Linked DNA regions of Homo sapiens: region 1 is linked to region 2. The links are contacts of gene promoters, found by promoter capture Hi-C in human tissues and cell types (Jung and others, 2019). All regions are on one chromosome and are shown on one strand. Each heading gives the region's core, a stretch centred on a gene start or on the middle of the fragment in contact. The rest is flanking DNA. Distances are from core to core; before and after follow the strand shown.

Region 1 (3,997 bases), core at 253-2,752, 340 kb before region 2:
GCTCACTGTACCCTCCACCTCCTGGGCTCAAGCCATCCTCCCAGCTCAGCCTCCTCAATAGCTGGGACTAGAGGGTCACGACACTATGCCCAGCTAATTTTTTTGTATTTTTTGTAGACATAGGGTTTTGTCACGTTGCCCAGGCTGGTCCCAAACTTCTGAACTCAAGTGATCCGCCTGTGTCAGCCTCCCAGTGTGTTGGGATTACAGGTGTGCACCACCATGCCCAGCTGAAAATAAAATTAAGGTGAAGAAAGTTGTTCTCTGTGATCTCAGGGGAAAACCTTCAGGTAAATTTGCATTCAGATTGAATAGAAGAAACATACAAATGTGGATGAACTAGATACTACTTTAAAAGTCTTTCTAGCGCCAGGCTCAGTGGCTCATGCCTGTAATCCCATCACTTTAGGAGGCTGAGGCAGGCAGATCATGAGGTCAGGAGATCAAGGCCATCCTGGCCAAAGTGGTGAAACCCCATCTCTACTAAAAATACAAAAACTAGCTGGGCGTGGTGGCATGTGGCTATAATCCCAGCTACTCGGGAGGGTGAGGCAGGAGAATCGCTTGAACCAGGGAGCTGGAGGTTGCAGTGAGCCGAGATCACGCCACTGCACTCCAGCCTGGGTGACAGAGTGAGACACCTTTACAAAAAATAAATAAATAAAGTATTTCTGTCCACAAACCAGCTTGGAGTAGGTAGGTAGCCAGGCATGAGCAGTTAAAGGAGCCCCTGGGAAAGGAATCTTAAGAAACACAGCCCACTGACAATCCCCTTTTGACAGCAAAAGCAGGACAGTGGCTACATTGCCTACACCTGTCCTTGTGGCTGGACTTGTCTGGCCCAGGAAGGGAGTTATCTGGCCCTAGCCAGAAATAACCCAGCTAGGGGATTTTCCCTATTAAGGAGCGTGCACACTCCTCTAATAATTCATCCTAGAATGGCCTTTTGCTCATTATAATACTAAGAAACACATCCCCTTTTTTCAAATATGATTTTAGAAAAAAATAAATAAGGGCTGGGTGCGGTGGCTCATGCCTGTAATCCCAGCACTTTGGGAGGCCGAGGCAGGTGGATCACGAGGTCAGGAGATCCAGACCATCCTGGCTAACACGGTGAAATCCCGTCTCTACTAAAAATACAAAAAAAAAATTAGCTGGGCGTGGTGGCAGGCACCTGTGGTCCCAGCTACTCAGGAGGCTGAGGCAGGAGAATGGCGTGAACCCGGGAGGCGGAGCTTGCAGTGAGCCGAGATAGCGCCACCGCACTCCAGCCTGGGCGACAGAGTGAGACTCCGTCTCAAAAAAAAAAAAAAAAAAGCCACACCCCTGGGTGGAGATTTGAGATGCTAAGGAGATATGTGATGTGTGCATGGACAGTCACAGCACATTCCTGCCCAAATGACTTCCCAGAACATGCTTACTAATAATGGCTGTGCACGGCCCCTTCATGAATAATCATGTCAGGTTCTCATTAAAAGGGTCAGGCCAGCATAAGTAAGGACAGACTCCTTCTTTTCAGGAGCCCACTCGGTTCTGTCGTTCAGGGTGTCGCTTCTTTCTGAGCTCCTGTCTCTTTAAATGAAGGGCATTTACCCTTTAACTCTTTCTGCGCATCTCTTGACTGAATCCAAGAAGACCAAGAACCAGAGGACTTCCACACCCCTCTGGGTAACATCTGGTGTTTTCACCTGGTTACCTGGTTACCTCGCCTGGTTATCCAGGTAAGTACCAAAAAGCTGGTGCCAGATTCTCTGGTTGACGACCTCTGCTTCTTTCTGCACTGAAGAACCTCCTGCCCTAATGCAGATCTGGCAGCTTTAAGGGGAGGGGTTTTTCCTCTCAGGCTCTGTTCACTAACGACTGCCCAGTACCATTTCCCTTCAGCCACTGTCACTCTGCTCCCTCTGGCTGATTTCTCAGCTCACCCTGAGGGGTGATAAGCAGAGGAGGGAGGATTTAAACTCCACAGTGAGTAGATCTGAGACACATGGTGACCCTTCTTGCAGGAGGCTTGTGAAGGTGGCAGGGAATACGCCTGGCTGTGCAGTGACTGGGGAGCTTCATATTTTTTTTTGTGGGGGGGAGGACAGAGTCTCACTCTGTCGCCCAGGCTGGAGCGCAGTGGTGTGATCTCGGCTCACTGCAACCTCCACCTCCCGGGTTCAAGCGATTCTTCTGCCTCAGCCTCCCGAGTAGCAGGGACTACAGGCGTGTGCCACCATGCCCGGCTAATTTTTGTATTTTTAGTAGAGACAGAGTTTCACCATATTGGCCAGGCTGGTCTCGAACTCCTGACCTCGTGATCCGCCCACCTCGGCCTCCCAAACTGCTGGGATTACGGGCGTGAGCCACTGCGACCGGCGCATATCTTTTAATTAAAACTACAATCCGGTGTTAAGTCAGCTCTTATACTTGCCATTCATGGCCGTTCACTCCCCTGAACACCATATGCCCCCACCGTTGATTAATCTCCCAGGTCACTCTGCTTACTCTTTGCTGTCCCTCTCCTCGCCGCAGGGATTTCATGAATTCTTCCTGCGGGTGCAAGCCTCTTGCAGGGCCTGTTTATCCAGGACCTGCTGCGTTTGCTTCACTCAGGCGCCAGAGTCCTTTGAGGGCCTATGCTGATGTTTATACTTTTTTCCTCAGAAATGAGACTCAGCTTTGTCCTTTCCCTTGCCTCCTGTTTCACTGGAGGGACCGGCACTGGGAGGATGCCTGCTTAAAGAAATCCCTCATTTTGGCCGGGCACGGTGGCTCATGCCTGTAATCTCAGCACTCTGAGAGGTTGAGGGGGGTGGATCACCTGAGGGCAGGAGTTCAAGACCAGCCTGGCCAACATGGTGAAACCCCATCTCTACTAAATATACAAAAATTAGCCGGGCGTGGTGGCACACGCTTGTAATCCCAGCTACTTGGGAGGCTGAGGCAGGAGAATCGCTTGAACCCGGGAGCTGGCCATTGCAGTGGGCCGAGATCGCACCATTGCACTCCAGCCTGGGCAACAAGAGCGAAACTCTGTCTGAAAAAAAAAAAGAAAGAAAGAAATCCCTCACTTATTATTGGGTCCTTCTCCGCCTGCCTACTCTTCAAGAATGCCTCATTCTGTGACTCCTCAATGGAACTGCCTGGCTCTTCCAGAGGGTCACCTGTGACCACTTCCTTACTCCCTAGTTTCTCTGTACAACCAGGGTTTCCAATGGGCCACAGGAGACTGCTTTCTCCACCTCATTAGGCCATTGTAACAGACCCGTGAAGTACTCAGGTCCTTTTTGCTTTTTGTTGAATAAGCTGATAGAAAATGCTTCTCACATTCCCCTTGCTGTTTATGTGATCATATAATGGACTAAAAAACCAGAATCAACAGCCCAGTTCACTAACTCTGAGCCCCAGGGGGTCTTCTATGCTTTTCAAGCATTTTTTTCTGTATAAACCCCAAGGAACCTTTTAAGAGTGGGGGAAGATATCACATCTTTTCCGTTCCTGTAATCATTAGTATTAGCCCAATATCATTATGTATTAAGAAGACCTAGGCTGGGCGCATTGGCTCACGTTTGTAATCCCAGCACTTTCGGAGGCCAAGGCGGGCGTGTCACCCGAGGTTGTGAGTTCGAGACCAGCCTGATCAACATGGAGAAACCCCGTATCGGCTGGGCACGGTGGCTGATGCCTATAATCCCAGCACTTTGGGAGGCTGAGGCGGGCAGATCACGAGGTCGGGAGTTTGAGACCAGCCTGGCCAATATGGTGGAACCCTGTCTCTACTAAAAAATTAGCCGGGCCTGGTGGCATGGATCTGTTATCCCAGCTATTCAGGCGGCTGAGGCAGAAGAATCTCTTGAACCCTGGACACAGAGGTTGCAGTGAGCTGAGATCGTGCCACTGCACTCCAGCCTGGGTGACAAAGTGAGACTCCATGTCAAAAAAAAAAAGAAACCCCGTCTCTACTAAAAATACAAAAATAGCTGGGCATGGTGGTGGACACCAGTAATCCCAG
Region 2 (4,204 bases), core at 1,487-3,986:
CCTCGAATCTACTAAATACAAGAAATTGGCTAGGTGTAGTGGCTCAAGCCTGTAATCCCAGCACTTTGGGAGGCCGAGAGGGGCGGATCACCTGAGTTAAGGAATTTGAGACCAGCCTGACCAACATGGTGAAACCCTGTCTCTACTAAAAATACAAGAATTAGCTGGGCGTGGTGGCACATGGCTGTTATCCCAAGTACTCGAGAGGCTGAGGAAGGAGAATCTTGAACCCGGGAGGTGGAGGTTGTAGTGAGCCAAGGTTACACCACTGCACTCCAGTCTGGGCACCAAAGTGAGACTACAGGCTGAGGCGGGAGAATCTCTTGAGGCAGGAGAATCGTGCCACTACACTCCAGCCTGGGTGATAGAGCGTGACTCGGTCTCAAAAACAAACAAAAAAAGAAATAGCTTAAACTGGGAGGCTTAAGACACAGAAATTTATTTCTCATGAGTTTGGAAAGTGGGAAATCCAAGAGCAAGGTGCCAGCCACATTGGTTCCTGGTGAGAGCCTTCCTCATGGTTTAGCCCAGCCATCTTCCTGCCATGTCCTGACATGGTGGAAACAGGAACAGGCAACGAGCTCTTTAATGTCTCTTTTTATGAAAGCACAAGTCCTATTCACGAGTAGTCAACACCCGTGACCAAATTGTCTCAAAGGCCCCATCTGCAGGAACATCCTATTGGAGAATAAGAACTCTGAACATGGCGTTTGGCCAATACAAACATTCAGACCAGGGAGCCTGCATCATCTTATTTATGTTTTTATTGTTTAATTTGTTTCATACAATGTTTTCTCTGATCTCAGTTTATAAATTTTCCCAGTACACATTCTATGTTTTATATTTTATGCATAGTGAACTAGATACATAGGGCAATGTATATATATATATAGAATTGCTGTATTGCCTGGCTGTTTCATAAATGTAGTTGTGACATCATAATTGCACCCTCCGGCACTATTAGTCAATTCTTTTTTTTTTTCTTAGAGACGAAGTCTCACCCTGTCACTCAAGCTGGAGTGCAGTGGTGGGACCTTGGCTCACCACAAACTCTACCTCCTGGGTTCAAACGATTCTCTTGCCTCAGCCTTCTGAGTAGCTGAGATTACAGGCACCCGCCACCACACCCAGCTAATTTTTTTGTATTTTTAGTAGAGTTATGGTTTCACCACGTTGGCCAGGCTATTCTTGAACTCCTGACCTCATGGTCTTCCCACCTCGGCCTCCCAAAGTGCTGGAATTACAGGCATGAGCCACTGCACCCGGCTGTTAGTGAATTCTTATTCATTATAATGCTGCATATTTTTTTGACCTCATACATCAGAAGGTAGTGATCTTAACATGTATTTCAGTTCTTATATTGTGTGCTGGTGGTAAGTAGAAGTTGTGCTTTTTTCTTAACAGGGAATTGTTTAGAATTCTGCAGTTTGTATAAATGTACTTATGATTTGCTTGCTGGTTTTATGCGTTACAGTTATTTTACCAATTCATTTTTATGATTTTACATAAAGCTTTTCGGTATGTGGTATGCAATATAACTGACACAGTTTACTAGTTAATGTCACAAAGTGCCAGCGGGTGCTGTGGCTCACGCCTGCAATCCCAGGACTTTGGGAGGCTGAGGCGGGTGGATCACTTGAGGTCAAAAGTTCAAGGCCAGCCTGGCCAATATGATGTAACCCTATCTCTACTAAAAATACAAAAATTAGCCAAGCATGCTGGCATGTGCCTGTAATCCCATGTACTCAGGAGGCTGAGGCAGGAGAATGGCTTGAACCCAAAAGGTGGAGGTTGCAGTGAGCTGAGATCAGGCCATTGCCCTCCAGCCTGTTGTGACACAGTGAAACATTGTCTCAAAAATACAAAAATAAAAAAAAAATTTTAAATGTTACAATATGCCTTTTCTGCATGGATATAGGTAATTTTATGACAGTTATTCAGAAAAATATTTTTTTTTTTTTGAGATGGAGTCTCACTTTGTCATCCAGGCTGAAGTACAGTGGTGCGATCTCGGCTCACTGCAACCTCTGCCTCTTGGGTTCAAGCAATTCTTGTACCTCACCCTTGCGAGTAGCTGGGAGTACAGACGTGCACCACCATGCCTTGCTAAATTTTGTAAACTTTTCTTATCTTCTCAGTGCTATGATTATTTAACAATACAGAATTTCCATTGATTTTGGTTATCCTTACATGAGCTTGCTGTGGATTATTTACCAGTATATTATATTGTGTGGTCCTTTAGTATTTATTTGTATACAGTAAGTATGCTGTAAATATGAAGAATATATACTTTTCATTGATGTGACAGTGATATGTCTTTTGCAAACTGTTAGACACTTTAGGGTCACAGTGGAAAAATACTCCTTATTTTAGGCTTACACATGTTTGTGCCCTTCAGTGTTTTGTCATGATATTGGAAATAAGCTTTCATAATAATAATTTGAAGCACATGTAATCGCCCTTTATTTATTAAAGAATCTTACGATTTTGTGTTCCTAAACTTTGAAGATCATGTTTGGGAAGTTTAAAATCAGTATTGTCTTTTGTGTACCTATTAGTGTTTATATTTTGTAGGTATCTCTTCCAAATGCACAATGAAGGAGTTCTCATCAACAGCACAAGGCAATACAGAAGTGATCCACACAGGGACATTGCAAAGACATGAACGTCATCACATTGGAGATTTTTCCTTCCAGGAAATTGAGAAAGATATTCATAACTTTGAGTTTCAGTGGCAAGAAGATGAAAGAAATGGCCATGAAGCACCCATGACAAAAATCAAAAAATTGATGGGTAGTACAGAGCAATATGATCACAGGCATGCTGGAAACAAGCCTATTAAATATCAGCTTGGATCAAGCTTTCATTCACATCTGTCTGAACTCCACATATTTCAGCCCAAAGGGAAAATTAATAATCAAGTGGAGAAGTCTATCAACGATGCTTCCTCGGTTTCAACAGCCCAAAGAATTTCTTGTAGGCCCAAAACCCATATATCTAATAACTATGGGGATAATTTTCTGAATTATTCATTACTCACACAAAGACAGGAAGTACGCATGAGAGAAAAATCTTTCCAATGTATTGAGAGTGGCAAAGCCTTTAATTATAGCTCACTCTTAAGGAAACATCAGATTATTCATCTAGGAGAGAAACAATATAAATGTGATGTATGTGACAAGGTCTTTATTCGGAAGCGATACCTTGCACGCCATCGTAGATGTCACACTGGTGAGAAACCTTACAAGTGTAATGAGTGTGGCAAGTCCTTCAGTCAGATGTCATCCCTTACATATCATCATCGACTTCATACTGGAGAGAAACCTTACAAATGTGAAGAATGTGACAAAGCTTTCAGACACAATTCAGCCCTTCAAAGACATAGGAGAATTCATACTGGAGAGAAACCACATAAGTGTAATGAGTGTGGCAAGACCTTTAGTCAGAAGTCATACCTTGCATGCCATCGTAGCATTCATACTGGAAAGAAACCTTACGAATGTGAAGAATGTGACAAAGCTTTCAGTTTCAAATCAAACCTTGAAAGTCATAGGATAACTCATACTGGAGAGAAACCATACAAGTGTAATGATTGTGGCAAGACCTTCAGTCATATGTCAACCCTTACATGCCATCGTAGACTTCATACTGGAGAGAAACCTTACAAGTGTGAAGAATGTGATGAAGCTTTCCGTTTCAAATCAAGTCTTGAAAGACATAGGAGAATTCATAATGGAGAGAAACTGTACAAATGTAATGAGTGTGGCAAGACCTTCAGTCAGGAGTTATCCCTTACCTGCCATTGTAGACTTCATAGTGGAGAGAAACCTTGCAAGTGTGGAGAATGTGACAAGGCTTACAGTTTCAAATAAAATCTTGAAATACGTCAGAAAATTCATACTGGAGAGAAATGTTATAAGTGTAATGATTGTGGCAAGATCTTCAGTCATACGTCATCCATTGTATACCATCATAAATTTCATAGTGGAGAGAAACCTTACAAATGTGAAGAATGTGATGAAGCTTTCAGTTTCAAATCAAACCTTGAAAGACATAGGAGAATTCACACTGGTGAGAAACCTTACAGGTGTAATAGGTGTGGCAAGACCTTCAGTCATACATCATCCCTTACATGCCATCATAGACTTCATACTGGAGAGAAACCTTACAAATGTGAAGAATGTGATGAAACTTTCAGATACAA

The links. The method cuts DNA at HindIII sites, captures the fragments that hold promoters and counts their contacts. A contact is called where the count stands out against the background at its distance.
Region 1: the fragment with the promoter of ERVV-2 here is called in contact with a fragment that was not itself captured in region 2 in 3 of the 25 tissues and cell types used here (dorsolateral prefrontal cortex, mesenchymal stem cells and stomach).

Annotation. Positions count from the first base shown.
Region 1 is chr19:53,043,238-53,047,234 of GRCh38, forward strand. ERVV-2 (endogenous retrovirus group V member 2, envelope) reads left to right here and starts at 1,503. Exons shown (of 2, transcript NM_001191055.2): 1 at 1,503-1,721. The HindIII fragment of the contact is 12,011 bases long and covers 1-3,997 here.
Region 2 is chr19:53,378,148-53,382,351 of GRCh38, forward strand. ZNF525 (zinc finger protein 525) reads left to right here. Exons shown (of 4, transcript NM_001348156.2): 4 at 2,575-4,204. The coding sequence ends at 3,872. Among named protein-coding and RNA genes, the nearest start is that of ZNF525, 15 kb to the left of the region's middle. The HindIII fragment of the contact is 5,110 bases long and covers 182-4,204 here.